Linked DNA regions of Homo sapiens: all the other regions are linked to region 1. Evidence: promoter capture Hi-C in human tissues and cell types (Jung and others, 2019). All regions are on one chromosome and are shown on one strand. The core of a region is centred on a gene start or on the middle of the fragment in contact, and the rest is flanking DNA. Distances in the headings are between cores, read along the strand shown. Region 1 holds the start of B4GALT7 (beta-1,4-galactosyltransferase 7). Region 2 overlaps LOC100128340 (a long non-coding RNA gene). Region 3 holds the start of LOC124901146 (a long non-coding RNA gene). Region 4 has its middle 18 kb from the start of PROP1.

Region 1 (2,700 bases), core at 118-2,617:
CAAAACAAAAACCCCAAACCCATAGATTTGCAACCAAACTACCTGATTTGCCTCTCTGTGCCTCAGTTCTCTCAATTTTAACTTGGGGATAAGCACCTACCGATAAGGACTACGTGAGATAACCCTCATGTAGTAAGAACTATTAACAATGACTGGCACATAATAAGAACTTAATAGATGTTTGCTATCTATTAGGAAACTTAAAAGTTTGCCTGGAAGAGCAGAGGAGGTCAAGTCTAACAATTGCCGCTTTCTTTCCCCAGGTAGGAGGCTAGTAGGAGGGGTGGGGGGGCTGGGGGTGAGGGGGATGGTTAAGTTCCCACGGTGACGGGGCAGATATGGGAACTCAGTCTCCTATTCCCTTCTTCAGTTCTCAGCTCCACCAAAGTACCCTTTTCCTGGATGACAGCTGTCATTTATATGGCGTTGAACTGTGTGCCTAGCGCTGCACAAGTGTTTGCACTTTCTCCTTGAATCCCCACAGCTACCATATAGAATAGGAGCCATTGATATACCCAGGTGAGGAAACAGATGCAGAGATGTGGCTTGGTCAAAACACAGCTGAATTGGCAGAGTCTAGTTTCTTTTTCTTTTTCTTTTCTTTTTTTTTTGACGGAGTCTCGCCCTGTCACCCAGGCTGGAGTGCAGTGGTGCGATCTCGACTCACTGCAAGCTCCGCCTCCTGGGTTCACACCATGCTCCTGCCTCAGCCTCCCGAGTAGCTGGGACTAACAGGCGCCCGCCACCACGCCCGGCTAATTTTTTGTATTTTTAGTAGAGACGGGGTTTCACCGTGTTAGCCAGGATGGTCTCGCTCTCCTGACCTCGTGATCCGCCCGCCTCGGCCTCCCAAAGTGCTGGGATTACAGGCGTGAGCCACCGCGCCCGGCAAGCAGAGTCGGGTTTCAAATTCAGTCAACTTGTCTTCAGGGCTCGGCTCCTAACGCCTGCGCGGGCTGTCAGCTGAACTCAGCGCCGAGCCGTGAGCTTGGCTTTGCCCCTCCAAGCTTGCGCGGAGAACGCGCCGCCTGGGCCGAGACGGGGACCCCGGGACGCTCCCGCCTCCCCTCGGAAAGAGGACGGAGATGCAGATTCTCCCCGAGCGTTGGTTTGGGAGTCTGGACTCTTAGGTCCAGTCCCAGCCCAGTGATTTGTTGGGAGGCCCTGGGCCTCTGGGCTTCAGTTTCTCGGGCTTCCAGGCGGGTCCCGGGGCGGCTAGGAAGGAGCCGCCCAGAGAGGGAGGCGCGCCCGCGCTGCTCGCAAGCAGAACCTTGGAGGCGGCGGCTCCGGGAGCTGGCGGCGCGGCCGGAGCGGCGGACCCGGCGGACCGGGGGGCGGGGCGGACAGGCCTGGGCGGAGCGGGAGGCGGAGGCGCCGCGTAGGCCCGGGAGGCCGGGCCGGCCGGGCTGCGAGCGCCTGCCCCATGCGCCGCCGCCTCTCCGCACGATGTTCCCCTCGCGGAGGAAAGCGGCGCAGCTGCCCTGGGAGGACGGCAGGTGAGCGGCGGCGGTGGGCCCGGGCCCCGTCCTCCCGGGCGCCGCTCCCTTCTCGGCCGCCGGCGGAATCTGGGAACCCGAGGCCATCACGTCTCCATGTCTGCGGGTTTCTGTGAGGGCGTGTGGTTCTCCCTGTGGGTCCCTGGCGCTCTGTTCCGGTTTCTGTCTGTCCCTGTGGGTCTCTGCCTCCCCCGCCCCCTCTCCCTTTCCGCGGCACTCGTCCTTCCCCCAGCACCTTCCCCCCGGCCCGTGGGTCCGTATTTCTCCATTGACTTCCCTTTGTGAGTTTCTGATCCCCTCTTTGCTAGTCTCTCTCGTTATGTGTTTCGTTGTGTCTGTGTTTCTCCACCAGCCTCCCTCTATCTGCATGCGGGTCTCTGACTCCGCTGACCTCTCACCATGGATTTGTGTTTCTCAATTTGTCTCTGATCCCTGAGGACGTGTATTCCGTTTCTCTGGTCTCTGCCTTCCTCATCACATCCATATAGCCTCAGACCCTACCCTTCCTCCTTAACACTTCCCCCCATCCTTCGCAGGCCACCAGCAGAACCCACCAGACAGAAGCTCCGTGCTCTGCCTGGCTGGTCACTGCCTGGCACGTACTAGACACTCCTTATACACGCATTAGTCCATTTCCTGTGCAGCTGTATTGGCCCTACGTGAAAGATGCGAGCTTGGCCCACACCTTAGCTAATTTTGTTTCTCACTAAAGCAGAATGGGGAAAGCGATTTGACTGCCTCCATTCGTGGGGCACTTGAGATGTGTCCCTGTAAGTCTTCTCACAGAACACATGACTGGATCTCCTCCTCGTGAATGACACCTCATTTCCTTCATGTTTCTTAAGTCCGTCAGGTGCCATAAGATTCTGGAATTTAGTGGCCACAACTTGTACTTTTGGGGATTTTTCAGACTTGGTGTTGAAAGGGGAAAACAGGAATATAATAGAAAGCGTGGACTAGCGTTCGACCTGGGCAGGAGTCCTCCGTAATTATGTGAGCAGAGACCCCTGCATCTGTCCGACCGCAGCCTTTCCGTCACTGAGCCAGTTATGACAGTATTGGCTCTGCAGGGCTGTGTGAGGATTAAAGGACCGCACACATGTAAAGAGCATGGCACTGCCTAGCACAACAGGAGGTGCCAGTTGTCTTCCCGTTACCTTTGCAGTTTTGAGGTCCTGTAACCAGAGCAGCTGAGGATTCAAAC
Region 2 (2,700 bases), core at 115-2,614, 360 kb after region 1:
GGCAGCCTTGTCCTGTTCCCCACGCTGCCATCAGGCCCAGCGTGTTCCCTGGGTCAGGCCGGCCAGGTGCCCTTCCGCCCAGTCCTCCCACAGCTCAGGCAAACCCTGGCAGGGCCCCTTCGTTCATATGCTAACAACCACGGCTTCACCTGCGGATTAAGGCAATGGGAAAACGGGCTTTCCCTGGAATCCCGTTCTGTCCTTGCCAATCATTGAGATGCTAGTGGGATTCTTGTTAGGCTTGAATAGTTTACATTTCCAGGGTCATCCCAGGCTTTGGTCATCATCATCTCTCACAGATCCCAACACAACCCAGGCCTGTGGCCATGTCCCTGACCTAGGGTGGGATCCATGGATTTACTGGAAGGACTGGCAGTGCCCTTCTTTCCAATGTTGTTCTATTGGAGACCAGTAGCACTGGTGGAGGTTGACATGGAGAAAGGAAACGGGCATCAATCAGGAGAACAAAATCAGGCCCTAACGGTTAGAGCAGAGAGGGAAGTCTGTGCCAGGCACAGAGCATCATGGAGACAGTGGCCGCCTCCTGGGGAAAGGGGATGACACGGGCCTCCCCTCCCTGGGGAATTTGAGGGTTATGGAATTTGAAGGCTGGGAAAGCATGTGGGAAATCAGAGGCCCCTCCCTCGCTGTAGGGAGGAAGTGATCCAGGCTGTGGAGAGGACTCTAGAGATGAGCACACTAGAGCCTCTGGGGTTGGCGTCACAGCCCCAGGACAGCGGGGCCCAAATGGCCCCTCGACTCTAACTCTCCCCTTTCCTTCCCATGGCTGCCCCATCACCGCTGCTGCTCTGGACACCCTGAAGGTCATTTGGCCAATTTAATGCCGACAGAAGAGGCCACCATCTGAATGTAATTTATCTCCTCTTTCATCTCCTTTCATTCCCCTCCTCCTTTTTTTTTTTTTTTTGGGACAGAGTCTCACTCTGTTGCCCAGGCTGGAGTGCAGTGGCGTGATCTTGGCTCACTGCAAGCTCTGCCTCCCAGGTTCACGCCATTCTCCTGCCTCAGCCTCCTGAGTAGCTGGGACTACAGGCACCCGCCACCACGCCCAGCTAATTTTTTGTGTTTTTAGTAGAGACGAGGTTTAGCGTGTCTATGTGACACCCCAGGATTTTAGCAGATACACAAGTGAAAAACCATGTTGCTAAAAAGTATTTCCCATCTTCCAATTTTCTTATCATCATCTTGGAAATAAAATCTGTACGTACTTGGGAATAAAATTTATTGAATTATCAAAAATATGTATGCTAATGTATGTGAGTCATTAGCTATATCCACATTGACATAAAATTTGTGAAGACTCTTCAAAATCTCTTAAAGATTTATTTGGCTGGGCGCGGTGGCTCACGCCTGTAATCCCAGCAGTTTGGGAGGCTGAGGCAGGCGGATCATGAGGTCAGGAGATGGAGACCATCCTGGCTAACACGGTGAAACCCCGTCTCTACTAAAAATACAAAAAACTAGCTGGGCGTGGTGGCGCGCGCCTGTAGTCCCAGCTACTCGGGAGGCTGAGGCAGGAGAATGGCGTGAACCCGGGAGGCGGAGCTCGGAGTGAGCCGAGATCACGCCACTGCACTCCAGCCTGGGTGACAGAGCGAGGACTCTGTCTCAAAAAAAGGAAAAATAAAAACACGAGAACGTACTGCAGGAGAAAACAGGCCTGGCCTGAGACGGCTGTGCCGGCTTTCTGAGGCCGTGAATGGCAAGACCTCGAGACTGTCAAGAGGAGCAAGAGGAGTCGGGATTTAGCGTCAGTGATGAGGTGCGCCACTCACTGTGTGACTTCAGAGTGTTTCTGGGGAAAGAAAATGAAGTCCTGTGAAGTATGCGGAGCACCCTCAGCAGCAGCCGTGGATCTGAACAGCCTCCCAGACACAGACGCCATGGGTGTGAAGTGTGTCAGGAACAAGCGAAGTCACCCACAATGGAGAGGAACACCCTAGTGTGCTAGAACTTTTGAACCACTTTTCCTCCTGTCTTGGGTCAGGCCTCATAGCTAACCCTTTGGTGCGCGGTACTCTCTCTGGCTATTGGAGAGATGTGAGAAGCTTAAGAAAAGCAAATGAGAAGACGTGGAGCAGGCAGATGGCCGGTCCCCATGGAAGAGTCCCCATTGTGAGGCCTCCCTGGGGATCTGGCGGTGGCCACAACACACTGGCCGGTGAGATTGGTTGTGATTGTCATTGTTGTGGAAAATGATTATCATCTGTCCTCAATGGTGCCAATGCTGACTCACCTGGAGGTGGAATGATGGCCATGGTGACACTGAGGAGGGAGCGTGGCAGAGGGAATGATGGCCGTGGTGACACTGAGGAGGGAGCGTGGCAGAGGGAATGATGGCCGTGGTGACACTGAGGAGGGAGCGTGGCAGAGGGAACGATGGCCATGGCTGACATTGAGGAAGGAGCTGGCAGAGGGAATGATGGCCGTGGTGACACTGAAGAGGGAGCGTGGCAGAGGGAATGATGGCCATGGTGAAACTGAGGAGGGAGCGTGGCAGAGGGAATGATGGCCGTGGTGATATTGAGGAGGGAGCGTGGCAGAGGGAACGATGGCCATGGTGACACTGAGGAGGGAGCGTGGCAGAGGGAACGATGGCCATGGTGACACTGAGGAGGGAGCGTGGCAGAGGGAACGATGGCCATGGTGACACTGAGGAGGGAGCGTGGCAGAGGGAAC
Region 3 (2,700 bases), core at 104-2,603, 340 kb after region 1:
TGGCTCATGCCTGTAATCCCAGCATTTTGGGAGGCTGAGGCTGGTGGATCACCTGAGGTCAGGAGTTTGAGACCAGCCTGGCCAGCATGGTGAAACCTCGTCTCTACTAAAAATACAAAGATTAGTTGGCCATGGTGGTGGGCACCTGTAATCCCAGCTACTCAGGAGGCTGAGGCAGAAGAATCACTTAAACCCGGGTGGCAGAGGTTGCAGTGAGCTGAGATCATGCCACTGCACTCCAGCCTGGGCGACAGAGTGAGACTCCATCTCAAAAAAAAAAAAAAAAAAAAAAATTGCTCCTGTATTACCAGATGCCCCTTTTAGTATTATTTTAGAAGCATTGGGAGAGTTTTGGCTAAAGTGCAATTTACCAGAAAACACTAGATTTTAGCTTTATAAAACTTAAATCTTTCATAGGACCTATATTTTCTTGAATTAAATTTTGCAGTTCTAGGCCAGGCACAGTGGCTCATGCCTGTAATCCCAGCATTTGGGAGGCCGAGGCGGGTGGATCATGTGAGGTCAGGAGTTCAAGACCAGCCTGGCCAACATGGTGAAACTCCGTCTCTACTAAAAGTAGAATATAAGTAGTGTATAAGCCCTGGGTCCTAGGCTCTGGGTATAAGCCTCACGTTTTTTCTGGGTATAAGACTTGTGTTTCCTAGGCTCTGGATATAAGCTACATGTCCTAGGCTCTGAGTACAAGCCCAATGTCCTAGGCTCCGTGTATAAGACCCGGGTCCTAAACTCTGGATATAAGCCTTGTGTCCTCGGCTCTGGGTATAAGCCTTGTGTTTTAGTCTTTGGGTATAAGCTCCATATCCTAGGCTCTGGGTATAAGCTTTGTTTCCTAGGCTCTGGGTATAAGCCCCACGTCCTTGGCTCTGTGTATAAGCCCCAAGTCCTAGGCTCTGGGTATAAGCCCCAAATCCTAGGCTCTGGGTATAAGCCCCGGGTCCTAGGCTCTGGGTATAAGCCCCGGGTCCTAGGCTCTGGGTATAAGCCCCAAGTCCTAGGCTCTGGGTGTAAGCCCCGGGTCCTAGGCTCTGGGTGTAAGCCCCGGGTCCTAGGCTCTGGGTGTAAGCCCCGGGTCCTAGGCTCTGGGTGTAAGCCCCGGGTCCTAGGCTCTGGGTGTAAGCCCCGGGTCCTAGGCTGTGGGTGTAAGCCCCGGGTCCTAGGCTCTGGGTGTAAGCCCCGGGTCCTAGGCGCTGGGTATAAGCCCCGGGTCGTAGGCTCACCCCAGGACCCCCCAGCACAGGTCCAGTGGCTTCCCGTTATTAGAGGTGAATGTGATCCTGGGCATCATTTATTTGGGGGAAAATTGGATTCTTTGGGGCTCCAGTTCCTCTCTGCTGCTGGCTCTCCTAGGCTGCCAGTCCCACATCCCACTTCCCCTGTGTAGAAGGGGGAAGGCCACCCCCTCCACACTCCCCCCCATGAGGCTGAAAGTGGCCAAATTCTCCCATAGAAAAAGTTTGCTGCGGCTTTGAATAAACATAGAAATTGATCATCCCAGCCTTAAAGAAAGTTACATTTGTCTCAGTGGAGTTTTCTTGGGAAACCTCCCAGAGAACAGTAGGGAGCTGAAACTTACGAGCTAGAGCTCTGGGCCTGATAGTGAGAGGCCTGCCCCTCAGCCCTCCGGAGTGCCTCAGCCACCTGGTGTCTGTTGACCAACGCCTTTGCCTCCCTGCTCTCTAACTCCTGTTTTTCCACAACTGGTTACATTTCTTCTTGGCCAGGCCTCCAGGACCCCCACCCTCTGCACTGCCCTGGATGCTGACGAAGGCTCTCCTTCCCTCTCCCTAACCAGCTCCTCCCCTCCTCCCACCTTTGGCCATGCAGAGGCCCAGCTACACTGTGCCTCTGCCTCTGAGAAATGGCTGGGGGTGCGCTGCGGGGGTGCGCTGCTGGGGAGCCTGGAGCTGGGGTAGGGATGGGGGGTTGGGGAGAGGGTGTTGTTCTCAGAGTCCTCTGGGTCGCAACCCCAGCAACCCCAGCAGTACCAGATCTTGCATCCCCACCTGGTTTCCTTGCCCGCTGTGCAGTGGAAAGGGCGCACCTGTTTGAAAGGAGCGGCTGTGCTTGCAGAGGTGCGCTGACCCAGGATACTGGTGGCCTTTCCAGCACCCGCCTGTCTGGCAGCTACCGCCCCACGCTCCTATCCCTGCTTAGTGGAGCCCCGCTGCTACCGCGTCCTGTTCTGACCTCTGCCAGCCCGCGCCCCGCTCCCCTCCGCGTCCTGCTGCCCGCGTTCTGTACCTGCCCGCGCCCCGCTCCTACGCGTGCGCCACTCCTATCCGTGCCCCGCTCCTAGCTAAGCCCGGCCCGTGCCCACTCCCACCCGCCGCCTTGCGCTGCCCCTTCCGGCTCCTCCCCAGCAGCCGGCACCCGCCTGGCCCAACAGTGACAGAGCAGGGCGCGCAGCCGCTGAGTGCTCTGGAGTCCCTGCCCCGAGGTGCCACGCCCACGTCGGCCTCACCCGGGCAGGCATGGGGCGGTCGGGCTTAGCGCCGCACCCCGCCGGCCAGAGCCACCGTCTCTCCAGACGCGGCCCCAGCGCCCACTGGGGATGGCAAAGACGACATCCGGTGCGCCGAGGCTGCTCACAAAAGTAAGTCTTGCTGGCTGCAGGCGCCCGCATCGGCCAGTGCAAAGGTGGCCCAGAGTGCCAAGCGGCGGAGCCGAGCTTTGAGAAGC
Region 4 (2,700 bases), core at 36-2,535, 380 kb after region 1:
CGGCAGTTCAAGACCAGCCTGGCGAACATGGTGAAACCCGCCCCCCCAACCCGTCTCTACTAAAAATACAAAAATTAGCTAAGTGTGGTGATGCATGTCTGTAATCCCAGCTACTCGGGAGGGTGAGGCAGGAGAACTGCTTGAACCGGGAGGCGGGGGTTGCAGTGAGCCAAGATGGCACCACTGCGCTCCAGCCTGGGTGAAACAGAGCGAGACTCTGTCTTTAAAAAAGAAAAGAAAAGAAAAGCTCGATATTACTGATCATTAAAGAAATGCAAATCAAAACCACAATGAGATACCATATCGTATCAGTCAGAATGGCTATTATTAAAAAATAAAAAAATAACAGATGGTGGCGAGGTTTTGGAGAAAAAGGAATGCTTATACACCGTTGGCAGGAGTGTAAATTAGTTCAACCATTGTGGAAGACAGTGTGGTGATTTCTCAAAGATATAAATACAGAAATACCATTCCACCCTGCAATCCCATTACTGGGTATATACCCAAAGGAAAATAAATTGTTGTTATAAAGACACAGGCACAGATATGTTTATTGCAGCACTATTCACAGTAGCAAAGGAAAAAAAAAGACTCCAGGAGGCGTCCCTGGGAGACTTTCTCCAGCCTCATAGCCCATCTTGCACCCAAGTGACAGCACGTGGCTTTCCTTTTGTGAGGGGAGCCCATGGGATTCACTCCCTTTTCCTATTTCCTCCGGGGTGAAGCCTCATGTGTCGGGACAATGTGGGATCAGGGACTGTCTGGGTGACCCTGGCGAGCCTCTCCTCACGGAGTTCTAGCGGCCATCAGGGAAAGGGGAGCACGCCCAGGGCGGCCGCCCCCAGGGGTGTTTGAATACAGGCCAGGAGCAGGCTGCTCTGTGATGGTGGGGCGGGAGGTGATGAGACTCCCCTGAGAGGCTCCCTTCGGTGCTGGAAAGATGGGACATGGGGAACCGCCTCCTGCCTGGACCAGTTGATGCCCAGAGCCACTCCCCTGGGTCCTCATCGCTCCTTCCAGGCAGTGAGGATGTGGGTTTCCAGGGGAATCCAGGCCTTTAGGGAGAGTGGGAATCTGACTTTGATCTTGCAGCTCCGCATTTTTCCTGCACATTTGCTGATTAGTTTATGCCTGTCAGGGGCCTCAGGGCCAGTGCTAAGTCCCAGGGTCTTAGGGTAGGAAAGATGATTCCCCAGATTTCCTGCAGGCATTTGAGCATGGTGGAAGGATCAGTGGAGCCTCCAGTGAAACTTGGCAGATTGCGCACTTCATTTATTTTCACTCTCCCAGGATCCTTCCCAAATTATCATAAATAAACAGAGAATTCTGAAACCTACAAAGAAAAATACAGCAAAAGAACAATGAATCAGTTTCAAAGCCTAGGCAGAGAGGCCGTAGGGTGACTGACAGCAGCCCCTGTGGGACTGGAGAGCAGACGGTTTGGTGGAAACAGCGCCCAGTTCCACAGAGGGAACTTGAGGAGAAGCAAAGTGACTGAGCCAGCAGAGCCGGGCCCCAGACCCCCACCCCAGCCTGTGGGAACTGCAGGTGTGATCTGGGAACACACTGTTCTGTCCCTTCTATTTTTCTCTTCATATAAGCTCTGGTTCTAGAAACAACTCACCTGCAGCCGTGTGTGTGTGTGTGTGTGTGTGTGTGTGTGTGTGTGTGTGTGTGTGTGTGTGTGTGAAAGAGACACAGAGCACGTGGGAGCTCATTTCTCCCTGGGTGTGTGTGTGTGTGTGTGTGTGTGTGTGAAAGACAGACACAGAGCACGTGGGAGCTCATTTCTCCCTGGGTGTGTGTGTGTGTGTGAAAGACAGAGACACAGAGCACGTGGGAGCTCATTTCTCCCTGGGTGTGTGTGTGTGTGTGTGTGAAAGACAGACACAGAGCACGTGGGAGCTCATTTCTCCCTGGGTGTGTGTGTGTGTGTGTGTGTGTGAAAGACAGAGACACAGAGCACGTGGGAGCTCATTTCTCCCTGGGTGTGTGTGTTTGTGTGTGTGAAAGACAGAGACACAGAGCACGTGGGAGCTCATTTCTCCCTGGGTGTGTGTGTGTGTGTGTGTGTGAAAGACAGAGACACAGAGCACGTGGGAGCTCATTTCTCCCTGGGTGTGTGTGTGTGTGTGTGTGTGTGTGTGTGTGTGTGAAAGAGACACAGAGCACGTGGGAGCTCATTTCTCCCTGGGTGTGTGTGTGTGTGTGTGAAAGACAGAGACAGAGCACGTGGGAGCTCATTTCTCCCTGGGGGTGTGTGTGTGTGTGTGAAAGACAGAGACACAGAGCACGTGGGAGCTCATTTCTCCCTGGGTGTGTGTGTGTGTGTGTGTGTGTGTGAAAGACAGAGACACAGCACGTGGGAGCTCATTTCTCCCTGGGTGTGTGTGTGTGTGTGTGTGTGTGTGTGTGAGAAAGACAGAGACACAGAGCACGTGGGAGCTCATTTCTCCCTGGGTGTGTGTGTGTGTGTGTGTGTGTGTGTGTGTGTGTGAAAGACAGACACAGAGCACGTGGGAGCTCATTTCTCCCTGGGTGTGTGTGTGTGTGTGTGTGTGTGTGTGTGTGTGTGTGAAAGACAGAGACACAGAGCATGTGGGAGCTCATTTCTCCCTGGGTGTGTGTGTGTGTGTGTGTGAAAGACAGAGCACGTGGGAGCTCATTTCTCCCTGGGTGTGTGTGTGTGTGAAAGAGACA

What was found. Contacts are between HindIII fragments. The study calls those that stand out against the background at their distance.
Region 2: a fragment that was not itself captured here is called in contact with the fragment with the promoter of B4GALT7 in region 1 in 1 of the 25 tissues and cell types used here (aorta).
Region 3: a contact is called between a fragment that was not itself captured here and the fragment with the promoter of B4GALT7 in region 1, in 1 of the 25 tissues and cell types used here (IMR-90 fibroblasts).
Region 4: a contact is called between a fragment that was not itself captured here and the fragment with the promoter of B4GALT7 in region 1, in 2 of the 25 tissues and cell types used here (dorsolateral prefrontal cortex and thymus).

Annotation. Positions count from the first base shown.
Region 1 is chr5:177,598,765-177,601,464 of GRCh38, forward strand. B4GALT7 (beta-1,4-galactosyltransferase 7) reads left to right here and starts at 1,368. Exons shown (of 6, transcript NM_007255.3): 1 at 1,368-1,496. The coding sequence starts at 1,447. RefSeq lists enhancers at 521-620, 821-1,000 and a silencer at 1,181-1,720. The HindIII fragment of the contact is 7,199 bases long and covers 1-2,700 here.
Region 2 is chr5:177,958,895-177,961,594 of GRCh38, forward strand. It overlaps LOC100128340 (a long non-coding RNA gene), which reads left to right. Exons shown (of 4, transcript NR_149047.1): 4 at 825-906. Among named protein-coding and RNA genes, the nearest start is that of PROP1, 36 kb to the right of the region's middle. The HindIII fragment of the contact is 6,748 bases long and covers 1-2,700 here.
Region 3 is chr5:177,937,153-177,939,852 of GRCh38, forward strand. LOC124901146 (a long non-coding RNA gene) reads right to left here and starts at 2,318. Exons shown (of 3, transcript XR_007059075.1): 1 at 2,263-2,318. LOC100128340 (a long non-coding RNA gene) reads left to right here and starts at 2,375. Exons shown (of 4, transcript NR_149047.1): 1 at 2,375-2,614. RefSeq lists an enhancer at 2,396-2,700. The HindIII fragment of the contact is 7,499 bases long and covers 1-2,700 here.
Region 4 is chr5:177,977,171-177,979,870 of GRCh38, forward strand. No RefSeq gene overlaps it. Among named protein-coding and RNA genes, the nearest start is that of PROP1, 18 kb to the right of the region's middle. The HindIII fragment of the contact is 5,363 bases long and covers 1-2,700 here.